Linked DNA regions of Homo sapiens: region 2 is linked to region 1. The links are contacts of gene promoters, found by promoter capture Hi-C in human tissues and cell types (Jung and others, 2019). All regions are on one chromosome and are shown on one strand. Each heading gives the region's core, a stretch centred on a gene start or on the middle of the fragment in contact. The rest is flanking DNA. Distances are from core to core; before and after follow the strand shown.

Region 1 (7,082 bases), core at 4,451-6,950:
AAAGATTTCTGAGATAGGCTGGGGTTTAGTTTGTTTGTTTTGGTTTTGTGTTTTAGTAATCACAAAACATTAGATGGGCATTCCTGCACCTCTCTCCACCCTTTCTTCCAAAAGATCTGTGTGAGACCATTTTAAATACATCTTCAACTATGTCCTTCCTGGCTTTAATCTCATGCCAGGGGAGACTAATTGATTCAGCACCTTTCAAATAAGCTCTTTGGGAAAGGTCTGCAGCAAGATCAGAGGCACTGACCTTTTTCTCAATGATTGCAGGCATGTTCATCTCTCCAGATGGGCTCGATAAAACGGGGTTAGTTCTGTTCTGTGGTCTTGCTAAACAGAATAATACCATTTTTAACGATTTTGAGGTAGGGAAGAGGTATAAAAGAGAATTTCCTACACATATCTGATCATTTGTAGGGTCCCATGGCTCTTGAACTAGATTTAGAAAATGTTTTTACAAGGCCACTTTTGTTCAGTGTGACTTACCAAAAAGCTAAAATGAATGACTTTCGGGAGACCAAGATATCAATATCAAAAAAAGCCCATAGAATTAGTGAAAAATGGTTCAGCCTCGTGGTAAGAAAGATATGGAGGGAGAGGATATGTTAACAGACAGACAGTCCGCTTAGATCCGGATTCTGGGGCCTGGAACGCAAGTCAACCCTGAATGTGCAGCCAAACCGATCTGTGCTTCTCTTCCTCTCTCACCAGATCACAATTTACTGGGTGGCAAGCTGGGAGAGATCAAGCTTTGTCTGGTATGTCTTTTAAAACGTGATTAACGCTGAGCTTGATGCTAGCAGCCCGCAAGGGGTACTATAGGCTTACAGCCTAATTCCTTTCCCCAAGCGGAGCGGTACCTTCTCATCGCCTTTTTGGGGAACTACACTAAAGATCTAGTGTGCACTGAACAGGTCTGTGGGAACCAGGAAGGCAGAGGAAGGAAGGGAGGCTCCCGGGAGCCCAGGCCCCGGCAAGGCCCTTACAGTTCCCAGACCCGCCAAACCGAAAGAGAGACCCTGGAGAGGGCTGAGCCCCTGTGGGCCTGGCTGGAGGCCTCGGGTAGGATGCTGAGGCAAGAGCCACAGCGGTCCGAGTCCAAGAACCACGTCCAGACTCAGCTTAAGGTTCCGAGGTGAAAGGCCTGGCCTAGAAGGGAGGGAGAGAGATCTGAAGAAGAGGGGGTGGGTGAAAGAAACGTGGACACTACAACTGCGTTTTCTGCTCCTGCAGCTGAGCGTGCCTGGACAAGTATGTAGGATTTCCCAATTGGGGGATCTAAGTACTCTCGAAAACTATGATCAGTTTTCTATTAGGTACCCTACCCCACAACAACAGATATCATTATTTCCTGGTTGAGTGTGGGTCGCATTAGGCCCAGGACAAGTGTGCCAATTGGGACCAGTATCAAAAGAGAGCCTTGAAGAAAGAAAGAAAGGGCTTCCCAGGAACTAAGCTGACCTCTCAGTGCCTCTAGGGAAGACATTTTTGCTGGAGGCAGGGCTATGAGCACAAGTGGGGCGCCCTGTGGGTGTGCAACCGCGGTCGGGGAGCACAGGCTTCCGAAGAGAAACTGAGCTCTAAGTGCCACTCAGGCCGGACGAGTTCCAGAGGGGGACAGCGCCCTCCTCGAAAAGCCTTGGTTTCTCCCCGCCCCCTCTTGTGACAGAAAGTTGGCAAGGATGCCCCGTAGGAGTGCGAGCCGCTCCCCTCCTCCGAAAAGCCGCGGGCTTCCGCTGCTCCGGGCATCACCACCAACAGCTTCCCACTCCCACCCCTGGGACTAGGACAGGGGACTTCACCCTCCTCCTTCCTTCCGGAGGAGCCCGCGGCTTCGCCTGAGGCCTCGCGGGCCCAACTTCTCCCCACCGCTAGGGTCACGCCGGGTCCCAGGGGCCTCTTTCAAGTTTGAAAGCTCTGTGGGGGCACGGAGAGCCCACAGTAAGGATGGGTGGGCGCCTCTGCTCCCGGGCAGGCTCAGCTGTCATCCCGTCTCGCCTTGGCCCTCACCTACAGGGCCTGACCCCGGGCCAGCCCAGCTAGGCAAGGCCTCCTCGCTTCCGAGACCCCCCAGCCCCCGGGTGCAGTCCCCAGCATCGGCTGCCCCCGCCCCCCGCGCGCCCTCTGACGCAAACGCACGCCCCTGCCCCGCACGGAGGAAAGCGCTCTTGTTGGTTTTAATTGAGCCTCTTCCTTTCAACACACCCCCTCTGTCCCCACCCCTGGGAGGCGACCCCCTCCCCGCCCCCAGCCGGCTGGCAGCGGCGCAGGGAGTCTGGCTCGGCTGCTAGGCTGCGAATCCCGGTGCTCTCTCGCCGCCGCCGCAGGTTGTCTGCTCGGGAGAGCGGCTCGATGTCCCTTTTAATCCGCTGACACTATCGCCCACATCAGACAGGCAGCCATCGATCGCGTTACATTAGGGGATGGCGTTACAAACGGCGTCCGCAGGTGGGCGGCTGCAGCCAAGCTCGCCAGGTTCAGGCCGTAACCAGGCAAGGCGCGGGCACAAGGGCCAGCCGGGCCGGACTCTGCAGCCGGCTCCACCGCGGGTCGCGCTCGGCACCAGCAGGAACAGCCGGGCCGGTGTTAAACGTGCGGGTCCCCGTCCTCCGCCCGGGCATCCGTTTCCCGCCTAGGAGAGAGAGGGAATAGCGGGTGGGGGTGGGAGCAGCCTGTTTTGAATGTGGATTGCTGCTCGCCTGGCACGATCCTCCCCTCCAAGGAGGCGCGGCGGCCGCGATCCTCGCCTTAGCGCTACGGCGAGACAGAGGCCGAGCGAGGGCAACTCCCGAGCAGGCCCCGAAGAAAGTTCTCCTCGTCCCGCCCTGGCTGCCTAGACTCTGCTCTCGGCCTGCGGAGGCCGTGCGAGCCAAGACTGCCTCCCGGCCCTGCCCGTTACCAACCCCAAGTTCAAGAGAAACGACAACCATTATGTTACTTGCCTGGTGAGGCAGGATTTGGCCGAGTCTCGTTTCTGGTGCCCACGACGCACGGTCCAGGGTCCGAGGGCGGCTGGGCCGGCGGACTGGGCATCCAGTGTGCCTGCGGTGCCCTGGCGCTCGCTGTCGCTGGTCTCCCACTCCCTTCGTCTCTCTCCGCGTTCTCCTTCCCTCGCCCTATCTCCCTCTCTCCGCCTGCTGCCTCTGCCCTCGACTCCCTGCCTCTGACTGTATGGGGAGTACGATTTAGAATCTGTACATAGAAAGGTTTTCTTTTCTTTCTTTTCTTTTGGTCTATTTTAATCGTGTTCGTTTCACCTTTTAACTGACCAGAAGACGGGAGCGCGTTTGCGCGTTTATTTGGGCATAGGGACGAGGGCAAGGAGCCCCTGCTACCCCCAGTCGCCTCCTCGCCATCAGCTGCGTACAATGGGCCACCGCTCGCGGAGTGCATTGACAGTTCTCCATTATTCGAGCTGGAGGGGCTGTGGGGCAGGCACGGGAAAACCTTTTATTCTGCTCTTTAAAATCATCGCTCGTCACTAAGCGGTCGCCGACTCCCGACTTGTAGGCTGGAGAGACCAGGAAGCGCAAAACGTCCCCCAAACACGCAGTGCTTCCCAAACCCCTCCCTGGTGAGACTTAAAGTGAGAACGAGTATTAAAAAACAAACCCTACCTCTGTCAATACAGCGTGGCCATTTACTTCCACCTTTACCTGAGGGCGTGTTGGCGCTAGGAATGCTCGAGCTGAGACAAACTTTTACGCCCTCGCGAGTCGAGGGGCGGGCGGGCGAGCGCGGCTCCCACCCCCGGCGGCGGCAGCGGCGGCTTTGTCACTCCGCGCGGCTCCGCGCCCGCCTGAGCCTGCCTAGGGGAGCGATCTCAAAACGAGGGGGGTGCGAGTATGCGATTGGAGAATATGTAACTAATAGAAGTATCATTTTCCCCCAGTACGATCTTTCAAGGAAAAAAAAATCCATTGAAAGAATTTTCAAAGTGCTGTCTTCGTTTGGAGAAAAGGCACAGGCTGCCTGCGGGGAGGGGAGGAGGGACTCGGCTGTGTGCCGCCCGGGAGCGGCTCCCGTCCGCTAGGTGGCAGCCGGAGCCAGCGATTCCTGCAAGCCCCGCCGCGGGACCCGCTCCTCCCGCCTGCCCCTCCTCCCGCGACCAATCACCTTCAGGATTCAGGAATCGGGGTCTCGGTCTCTCTCTCTCTCTCTCTCTCTCTCTCTCTCTCTCTCTCTCTCTCTCTCTCTCTCTCTCTCTCTCCCCCTCTCCCTCTCCCTCTCCCTCTCCTCTCTCCCTCTCCCTCTCCCTCTCCCTCTCCCTCTCCCTCTCCCTCTCCCTCTCGTCTCTCTCTCTCTCTCTCTCCTCTCTCTCTCTCTCTCCTCTCTCTCTCTCTCCTCTCTCCTCTCTCTCTCGGTCTCTCTCTCTCTCTCTGGGTCTCTCTCTCTCTCTCTCTCTCTGGGTCTCTCTCTCTCTCCTCTCTCTCTGGGTCTCTCTCTCTCTCCTCTCTCTCTCTCTCCCCTCTCCTCTCTTCTCTCTCTCTCTCTCTCAATATCTCGCGCGCTCTCCTCTCTCCTCTCTTTCCTTTCCTCTCCTCTCTCTCTGTCTCTCTCTCTCCTCCTCCCCCTTTTCTCTCTCCCTCTCCGCCTCCCCCCCTCTCCATCTTCTCGTTTGTTTGCTCTTTTCCCGGGACTGACTTGGCCACACTAATCTCCCCCCACCCTGCAACAATATGGGGACTTACTACTGTTTTATTAATAATGATTGAAGCATTGTTGGAGTTTGGAACAGCCAGGTGATAAAAAAAAAAAAAAAGAAGAAGGAAAAATTGGATTGATTGGAAAGTTTATTTTTAAAATCATCTTTGGGATAAATAGGAACCCTTGATTCCGATCGAATTTGTGGCAATAGCTGCAAATTCCAGGAGTGTGCTTTGTCATCATTAAACCTTTTAAACCAAGGTATACTTTGGATTAAAAAATAGGGAGATCCTACCCTGTTTCTACTTGTTTCTAAAAAGGATATAAAATGAGCAGAATCCAGACTTGGATTGTGCTTATATGTGAGAGAAGAAAACAATCCAAATCCAGTATATTTCACAAATCATTAAAATGGTGGGGGTTTCATTCCCATTAAAAATTTTTCCAAACATTTTCAATGACACTCTCTTCACGCTCATAAAATCTAATTTTAAAAACTTTTCAGAAGAAATCAAAATAATTTCCCTCTAATTCTCCTTTTGCCCATCGCTAGGCGTTCTCCCCCTCGTCATCCCTTCCCCCTCTGGGGTGTGAGCGTAAGTGTGTGTGTGTGTATGTGTGTGTGTGTGTGACCATAGACGACCCATACTAATCAGGTCTCAGAGTAAATAGCAGCGCAGGGCGATCTCAATGTAAATTGCGCTTGTCAGAAACACACCCCCCTCCCTCACTTTCTCTCCTCCTCCCCACACCATCCCAGTCTGTAGGTAGCTAAGCGGGGGGGGGAGAAAGAAAGCAAAAGAGGAGGGGGGAGGGGCTCTCCAACCAATGGCGTGCAGGAGGCTTGGCTAACCTTAGCCTCCCATTTTCTCTCCCCCCGATTCAGGGCTCTGACCAGTCAGTCGCCTTTGATTATCAGTTGCCAGCAGCCCTTCTCTTGGCTCCTTGACACGAGCTCCATATAAGGCAGCGATCTCCATAGAAACGTGTCAGTTTCAATAGTAGTGTCAAAGTTCACTATATACAGACATTCGCGCAGATCCCCCTTTCGGAAACATTGCTCTGCGAGTCCTCCCGTTTAAACGCATTCAATTTTTGGGTCTCTCTCTCTCTCTCTCTCTCTCTTCTTCTCTTCTCTCTCTCTCTCTCTCTCCTCTCTCTCTCTCCTCTTTCTCCCCCCTCTCTCCCTCCTCTCCTCTCTCTCTCCTCTCTTCTCTGAACCTCTCTTCTCTTTCTCTTTTCTTACATATTCTACTAGTTGTTTTCCCCTTCTTCTTCTCCTTTCTCTCCTTTTTCTCCCTCCTCCTTGTCTCTTTTACTCCATTCCTGCAGAAGAGAGAGGGCTAAACTTAAAGAAAAAAAAAAGGAGGAGGAGGAGGAGGAGGCACCCCCTTCGTATTCTTCTTATCGTTATTTTATACATATATGATTTTTTTTGGAGGGAGGGTGTTGGTTGCCGGCTGAAGAGCACTTATTTAAAATACTAAAAAAAGAACATTTTTGGGCGATCTCCAGGGTTTTTTTAACTAGCTCTGTGTGTTATAGCAGAAGAAGCAGAAGAAGGAGCAAGAAAGAGGAAAAGAAGAGGATTATTTATTCGACCTACTTTGGATGTCTCTCTCGCTTTTCCTTTTTCCTTTTTTTGGCAATTATTTTCTTCTGATTTTTATTTTTTCTATTTCGCTGTGATTTCGTCGCCGGCGTGAATTATCCCGTATTTTTCTCCCCCTTCCGTCACCTCCCGAAAGAAGAAGGCAGCGAGAGCCCGGCGCCACCGGCACAACAAAAAGAGCAAAGTGTGTGATCTTCCTCGCCGGCTGCCTCCCGCTCTCCAGCGCTGCCTTCCTGAATGGCTGGCTGCGTCCGGCCCTGGACCTGGCCCCCCGACACCCGCGCGCCCTGATCGCCGGCGGCAGCCTCGCCCAGCGCCCTGCTCGGCTCACCGCGCTCCCCGCACTCCCGAGCCCGGCGAGGGCTCCCGCCGGGACAGCGGCGGCGCCGCGGGCGGCCCCGGCCTCCGCTCGCGCTCCGGCTGCGGCCCCGACTCCTGCTCGGACTCCGGCCCGGGTCCCGGCTCCTCCAGCGGCGCTCGCCGCAGCAGCTCCGGCGGCAGCTCCAGCGGCGCCTGCAGCCGCGACCTCCTCCTCCTCCGCCGCCGCCGCCGCCTCCGCCCTCGCCGGCTTCCTCTATGTCGGCTCAGCCCGCGCGCTGCGCGTAGCCCGAGCGGCCGGCGGGCGGGCGCCCGGCGCGGGTGAGCGACTGTGTGTGCGAGTGTGTGTGTGCGCGGGGGTGCGGGCGAGGCGGAGGGCGAGTGTGTGCGCGCGCCGTGGCCCATGCCCGCCGCCCCCGGCGCTGCGCCCCGCGCCGCTCCCGGCTGCCGCCTGTGCCATTTCTGATTTTGCAACTTGGGGAAGAAGAAAAAAGCGAGAGAA
Region 2 (7,162 bases), core at 2,422-4,921, 1.0 Mb before region 1:
TACCTGTCTCTATTATCTAAAAACTATCCATCAGAGGGTAACTAATTAATGCACTAATTTTTCTCTGCTGAGGCATTGGCACTGACGTTTTAGTAATGCCATGTACTTTTCCCATTTGTAATTTGTAAAATATTCTCTTATGATCACCATGTATTTTGTAAATAATAAAATAGTATTTGATTATATACATAATCAATGATAATAATGATTTATATATATATAGTATCATATATACGTCATTTAACAAACCATTGTTATGGTTTAAATTATGTTGCCCAAAAAGTTGTTGAAGTGCTTTCTCTCAGTAAATGTGACCTTAATTGGATATGGTATCCTAGCAGATGAAATCATTTGGGTGGTCCCTAATCAATACGACTGAGTCTTTATAAAAAGGGGAAATTTAGACACAGACATAGACACACACACAGGGAGAATCCTATGTGAGCATGAAGGAAGATACCAGAAAATGCATCTATAATCCAAAAAATGCCAAAATTTCCAGAAAACTACCAGAAATTAGGAAATGGGCATAAACAGATTATCCCTCACATCCCTCAGCAGAAACCAACCTTGCTGACACTTTGATGGTGCATGTCTAGCCTCTAGAACTATGAGAACGTTAATTTCTGCTGTTTAAGCCATCCAGTTTTTGGTGAGCTTTGTAGCGTTTTCATAGAGCTTTGTTACACCAGCTCTACAAAACTAATACACCCATAAATATTGCTAAAGATAAATATTCTCAGAGCCGCCTATCATTTGGACAATATATCAACAACTAGAATGACTGACGTGTGAATAGTATCTTTTGAAAGAAATCCTAAAATTCACCTTCATTGAGAACTTTCAAAGAGAAGAGAAAAGTCCAATTTGGGGTGCAGTCCTATGCAAAAGCAGCCACCCTAGTGGGGATGACGCCAGGTGGGTTTTTATGATTGGCTTAAACATAGATTGGGATGGCACGAAATAAAGGCAGAGAAAAGGGGATAGAAGATCCTAAACCCTCTAATTATGTTCTTTCATCCTCCCTCACTACGCACCATTTGCTTTTTTATAATGTGATACCTGCCAGAGAGATCATATGGGCAAAGTATTTCTGCTTCTAAATTAGCCCAAAAGTTAAAAAAAAAAAAAGATTCCGGGTTTGCTTTCCTGTGAAGGTATAAGATAAAATGTAAAGAACAAGCACAGTGATGATAGAAAGGTTGGACTCAGATTTTATATTTTTACAAAAGGAATTTTTAAAACACATATTGTACGTGAAGAGATGTAGCAGGGTACTAATAGCGTAGGCCTTTTAAAAATCAATAATTGGTGTTAGTAATAAGAGATGTGCTGACAACCAGCTGTGAAAGTGGCCTCATTCCTGCAGTGCAGGAGGGAAAGAAACCAGCCGGTGATTACTAACTCCAAATATTGCTTGCAGTGAAAGCTTCATTAAAAAAAATTAGTAAAATACCCCTTTTACCTTAAAATATGTGTCCCCATATTGAAAGAGGATCTATATAAAGAGTTCAGAAAAGAACTGCTGCAAACTGTTCAAATCAAGAGTATTTCCCAGTTGGGCCACCGGCCTACATTGTGGAACTTACTCTTTAGTAAAAAGCTCTTCTCCTCCCAATTAAAGAAAAAAAGGTTGGGATGCCCACAGGTCCTTGCAGCATGTTTAGCGTGACTTTTAACCCCTCATTTCACCTTCTGTATATGGCTCTTCTTTATACCACCACCTGATACAGCCACAGAATCTAGTCTCCACTGCAAATTAGGCTGTTAGCATCTCTTTCACAATTTTTAAAAGTCAGTGTCGAAATTCACTGTTGGCCCTTGCTGGTCTTCTATGCATGCTGCCTGTGAAAATCCAGCCATTTATTTTTATTCAAATCAAAGGGAGGCATTTTTGTTATTAAATAAGTTACTCAAAAACAAACAGCAACAGAGTCCACTTCTTACCAGCATATTCCTGCAAGCCTGATATTCTACATGAATTATCTTAATGAGGAAATATATCCAAGCACTGAATAAGGAATCTTAGATTTCCAGCTTTGACTTTTAGCTACAGCTCACTCACACACAACCTTACAGAATCCCTTAAATCTCCAAGAGCCCATTTCTCATTTTCCTCTGTGCTCCCATGGAGCTGATCCAATGGTTTTTAAGGGAGCTCTGAGCTTGGACAAGCTCTGAAGGGCATGGGGCAAGACAAGAAACGGGCCCTGCGCTCCCTGCTTATCGTCTTGGAAAATAGGTATGATAATATCAGCCTCACCAGGGTCCCATTGCAATTAATGTTTGGAAAATGTTTTGAAATCCCAGAGTTAAGAAAGGCAATACCAGCGTCAATTATTTAAGGGTCTTATTTCTAAAGCACTATTCAAATTGTTTTAAGCCACTTTTTCTAAAAATATATGATACAAAGGCAATTATACTACCTGCAAGCATAAATTGATGTGGTGGTTTTATGGTCTTTTGAAAATTGCCTTAGTAGAATATCTCTGTGACCTGGAACATCTAGTTAAATGAGGAATCTGAGTTTTGTAGACTCGCCCAAACACTTAAACGCCAAAGAGATGAATCTATGGGAAGGGTGCTTTTCTTTGTTGATCTTGATTGCAGTTTCTGCACTTTCCAGAAGGTGATGTTGCTTTGCTTGGCTTCGTTTCAGATCTGAGGAGGGAAGCCAAACAAACAGTGGAAAATGAAGGATGAATAAAAAAAGAAAAGAAAAGAACCTTGGCTTAGGAAAGAGAAAACTTTTACAACCAAAGGCATTACAGAAGGTCTTTGAGTTTCAATAACTTTGTAATCTTCATATCCAACCAATTTTTGCTGTATGAGTATTTCTGAGTCGAACATCCTGGAATTAAAGATAGATTCCAAAGTATTTCTAAACAATGTGTAAAACTGGCATTATTAGAAGTCTTTGAGTATATAGACAAGACGGAAAGTTTAAAATAGGGAAACTAAATTGAGAACAAAGATGTTTCTAAAGATAAATCTATTGCTTGAATTTATTATATAACAACATTTTTTAACTACACAGGTTTGCATTTTACTTGGTACAAATATATCGTTGAAGAGTTCACTTACACATCCAAGCTATTACATACAACTGGGAATGGATGCTCAATGCTGTGTACAAGGTAAAATAGGTCTTTAAAAATATGTATATCCGTTAATGCTAAGCTATATATTTTTCAGGTGTCCTTGTAACTTAGTGTTCTTTTTCTTTTTGCTTTATTTGCAGTTTATTTAATATTTGAAAATACTTTTGTATCAATTAGCAAATTAGCAATTTATCTGGGCGGAAAAACCCCATCTTAGTTACTGAGTTACAAAGTGAATTGTTCTGCAGCTGCAAAATCAAGTGCCTCAGCTGAGTTAATGCTTTTCATTTCTTTTGCATGTGTCAGCATTAATGGAGGCAAGCTTCTATGAAGCCTTGCGTGTGAAGATGGTGCTGAGCAGACTAGATTCAATTCTGTTATATTCAATTCTGTTAAATGCTTTTTGCATTTTTTTTTTTTTTTTTTTTGGAATAAGGCACAAAAGGAGACTTCAGGCTGAACTTCAAGCAAAAGTTAATGCTATTCTCTTTTGGGTTCAACCACCCACTTTGCTTAAGGTCACTAGTTGAGGCTAATGCAGCTCAGAGGGGCTGCAGTAAACTTGGCATCTCCTTGATTAGGCTCCCTGCTGATCTAATACACATACTAGTTCACTTGCCAAGTCAAATAACACATTTAGTGAATTGGAAATAAGATTTAAGTGGGCCAGCACAATGCGGCTTGCCCTCTCATCTTTTTACCGAATCCTTCTCTTTGTATGCAAGGCTGTGAAAACTGCTCTTGTTAGAGGACTTAATCTTCATTTTTTTCCTGTAGATTATTTGGAAACAGGTCAATTGAATGTTGGAGCTGCTAACTCCTCCCACTAAAGAAAGAACCCGCTTGTGGCATACTGATTGCATCATTTAAATGAAAAGCTCCTATTATTAAAGATAAAATACTACAATATAAGGGTTTGTTAGAATTAATTTAAAAATCCTGATATTAAATGCAGTACTTTTTTAACAGTGTGTTTATTTCTTTGTCTTATAGATTCTTTTCTAAAGCATGCTTTGTATTAACTACTGGTGAGTAATAGGAGGGGATGATCATATCAGTATATATTCATCTCCTGTGGCTATTCTGCTGCAGTTAATTCTTAAATACAGTAGGTTATAATAGGGTGACATTTCTATAGTGCCTTTCATAAGAGCAATCTAAAGCATGTCATATAATGTTTGACTTTGAACTATTCAGTTTCTTAGTGACACAAATCTCAGGGTAAATTTATGCCTTCATGGTTTGTTTCCTTAAAAAATATGAGTCATTGTATTTGTTATAGTTTGAAATTTATCATAGATTCACCATAGATTATCAAGTTATCCATGCCATAATAATCTGTAACTGTCCTTATCTGTGTGTTAGATGTGCAGGGTTATGATGTGTGTGGACTTTTTACGATCTACTTATCTCTTCTGGTCATATAGATTTATGTGTATCTCTTTTCTGACTAAATCTGAAATCAGAGCTTGCATTCTGAAGAAACAAAACATATCTATGTAAAATCCAAGTACTATTCCCTGACATCTAAAAGTTAGAGAAAAATGATTATAATACCCTCCACCAAAATAAGGAGGTACTCAATTTCAATTGCATTTTTTACAAAATAAAATGTTAAATGTGTGAAATGTATAATGTACCCTGAGATTAAGCTAAGTATCCCCAGAATGATTTTTAGAGTTACAATAAATAGACTATTTCAAGGGACAGTGTTTGATTATCTAAAATTTACATATTTGCAACAGTTGTTTCTGAGTGGAAAGGATTTATTTACTTAGCCAAAGCAAATAGCTTTTCTATGAAATGTGAAATAGGTTATACTGTTTATACTGTGTTTAGTCATTACATTTCATTCCTCAAAATGAGTACCAGATCTCTGTACTGTGTAATGAATATCCTCACAGTTTGTAAAACAATGTTAGTAATAATAATAAAGAATTGATCAATTTAATATTCTAATCTGGACTTCAATTTGAGGTTGTTGTTCTATCCAAAAGCACTTTGTAAATTCTAGAGAACTACACAAATGTGAGATCATTGCTATATTTTTCATCTCCTCTACTATATTTTACCTGTTTCTTTTACTTGTTTTGGACACCAGTAATGTTAAAACTCATCTCTAATAGGAAAAAGCAGAAAAATTGAAAAGATTACAAATGGTAAAATTATGATTAAACATAAAATTATTATGAAAAATGGCAGACTCCTACAATAGTCTGAGTTTTGTTTTTTGTATTGGTAAGAATTACACTTTTTTTTTGTTTTTTTGTTTTGTTTTATTTTGTTTTGGATGCCTTAGCTACAGATAGATGGCATCTAACCTCAAGGTAAGATTTTACTGCAGGAAGGCATTTTTACCTCATTACAGTTTGTCAGTAGAGAAAATATTTGTGGCATATTGATGTTCTACTGGTTAGAAAATATGTTTCCCCAAGCTCATGATTTTTATTCTGTGTTCTTGTAACTACTTAGAGCAACTTTGGGACATTAAGACATCAGTAACAAACACAAATATGTGATTACTGGCTTCAAAGTACGTGTAACAACTACCCTTTTTGAATATCTTTATATCTTCTGTTAATGTTCAGAGATGTTCAAAAGGTACATGACATTTTACACCTGTACAATAAGAATGTTTGGAAGAAATAATTGTGAATGAAAAAATTATTTAAGAGAGAATTTTATGTTTTGGGAAGAAATGACAATTAGTATTTTAGCCATTTCTTTCTCACTAACAAATGTATGCCAAAATACCACCTGTTTAATTCTTAGCATCCAAGCAAAACTATTTTTATTAGCTATATTAGACATATTTTTCCCTTCAGTTTCTTAAGTTTTTTGAGGTAATTATCATAATGTAAGTACAAATAAAAACATAATGTTATGATAAACTTAGGGGATAAAATTATATCTTAAAATTTTATTTACATTTGTTGCCATTTCAGACAAACAACTGAAAACTTACCCTTCCTTTTAAATTAATAAACTTGGAGCAATATTAAACCTAAATTTAATTCCTCACAGTCTCTTCCTTTTTTCCATTCCCAAAGAACCACTCTCTTGGTCCTAGATTGGAAAGGGGTATTTCAGTCTTATATAGCTGTATAACTTTTTATTCTCCCCAGGGGCAAAGAATAAAGTCATATTTCATAATTATATATATATATATATATGGTATTGTGTACAAGGGAATATCAGGAGATGGTATGTGACCTACATGTTCCTACAAAGAGCATGACCCAATAAGAGTACACATATTTTTAAATGATTATGTGTTTCTAGTAGCAAAAGAGCCAGAACCTAGAATTGCAATCTCTCAATTGCAAATTCATAAGAGCAATTGAGAATTCCCTGCTACTATTCCCACCCTTAACCAGCTAGTATATGCAAGCATTACAAGAAATTGCTAAAGACAGTGCTGTACAATATATGCAGGTAACTAGTAAAAATAGTAGCCCCCTACCAAACATCAATACAGTTACTAACAATCTAGAAGAAAATGTGCTATTAAAAATAGGTACTGAATCATAGGGTTAATTATTGTTTAAGTATTCTAGCTATGATAATATAATTCATTCAATTTACATAAAGTGAAAAGTGATAATGGTAAAATTCTTATGTCTGGAATAACTTTACAGCTCTATAACTCTTTTGATGACCTTGAAAGTTATATAGAATAAAAATGTATGCAAAAACACTTTAAAGTAATTCTTTTATCTTACCATTAAGTTGGTAATACAGCATGTATTTTGATAAATATAAAATTCCTTTTTCACATTTAACTGACGATCTATTGTACTCCAATTTGGCAAATGGGCATTTTGTTAAGTAAGGAAATGTTTTATTTTTATTGTAAAGATTTGCTTTTATTTCAAATACATGAGTGAGTGACAAACTTTAGAGTCTAATAACAAAAAACAGCAGGTAAGAAATAAAGAATTTTTTAAAGAAATAGATTAAAATTTATTTATAAAGATTGAAAAAAGTTAAATACTGTTTCAAACTTGACTTTCATTTTATTAACTTCTGTGAATACTATTATGATTTAGACACTAAAGTTT

The links. Contacts are between HindIII fragments. The study calls those that stand out against the background at their distance.
Region 2: a contact is called between a fragment that was not itself captured here and the fragment with the promoter of NR2F1 in region 1, in 3 of the 25 tissues and cell types used here (IMR-90 fibroblasts, aorta and mesenchymal stem cells).

What each region holds. Positions count from the first base shown.
Region 1 is chr5:93,577,522-93,584,603 of GRCh38, forward strand. It overlaps NR2F1 (nuclear receptor subfamily 2 group F member 1), which reads left to right and starts at 5,701. Exons shown (of 3, transcript NM_005654.6): 1 at 5,701-7,082. NR2F1-AS1 (NR2F1 regulatory antisense RNA 1) reads right to left here and starts at 3,698. Exons shown (of 8, transcript NR_186187.1): 1 at 3,621-3,698. RefSeq lists an enhancer at 3,874-3,973 and silencers at 4,094-4,143, 6,751-6,830. The HindIII fragment of the contact is 15,492 bases long and covers 1-7,082 here.
Region 2 is chr5:92,557,373-92,564,534 of GRCh38, forward strand. LOC105379082 (a long non-coding RNA gene) reads right to left here. Exons shown (of 4, transcript NR_188298.1): 3 at 2,427-2,661. Among named protein-coding and RNA genes, the nearest start is that of LINC02058, 380 kb to the right of the region's middle. RefSeq lists an enhancer at 3,318-3,974. The HindIII fragment of the contact is 8,223 bases long and covers 1-7,162 here.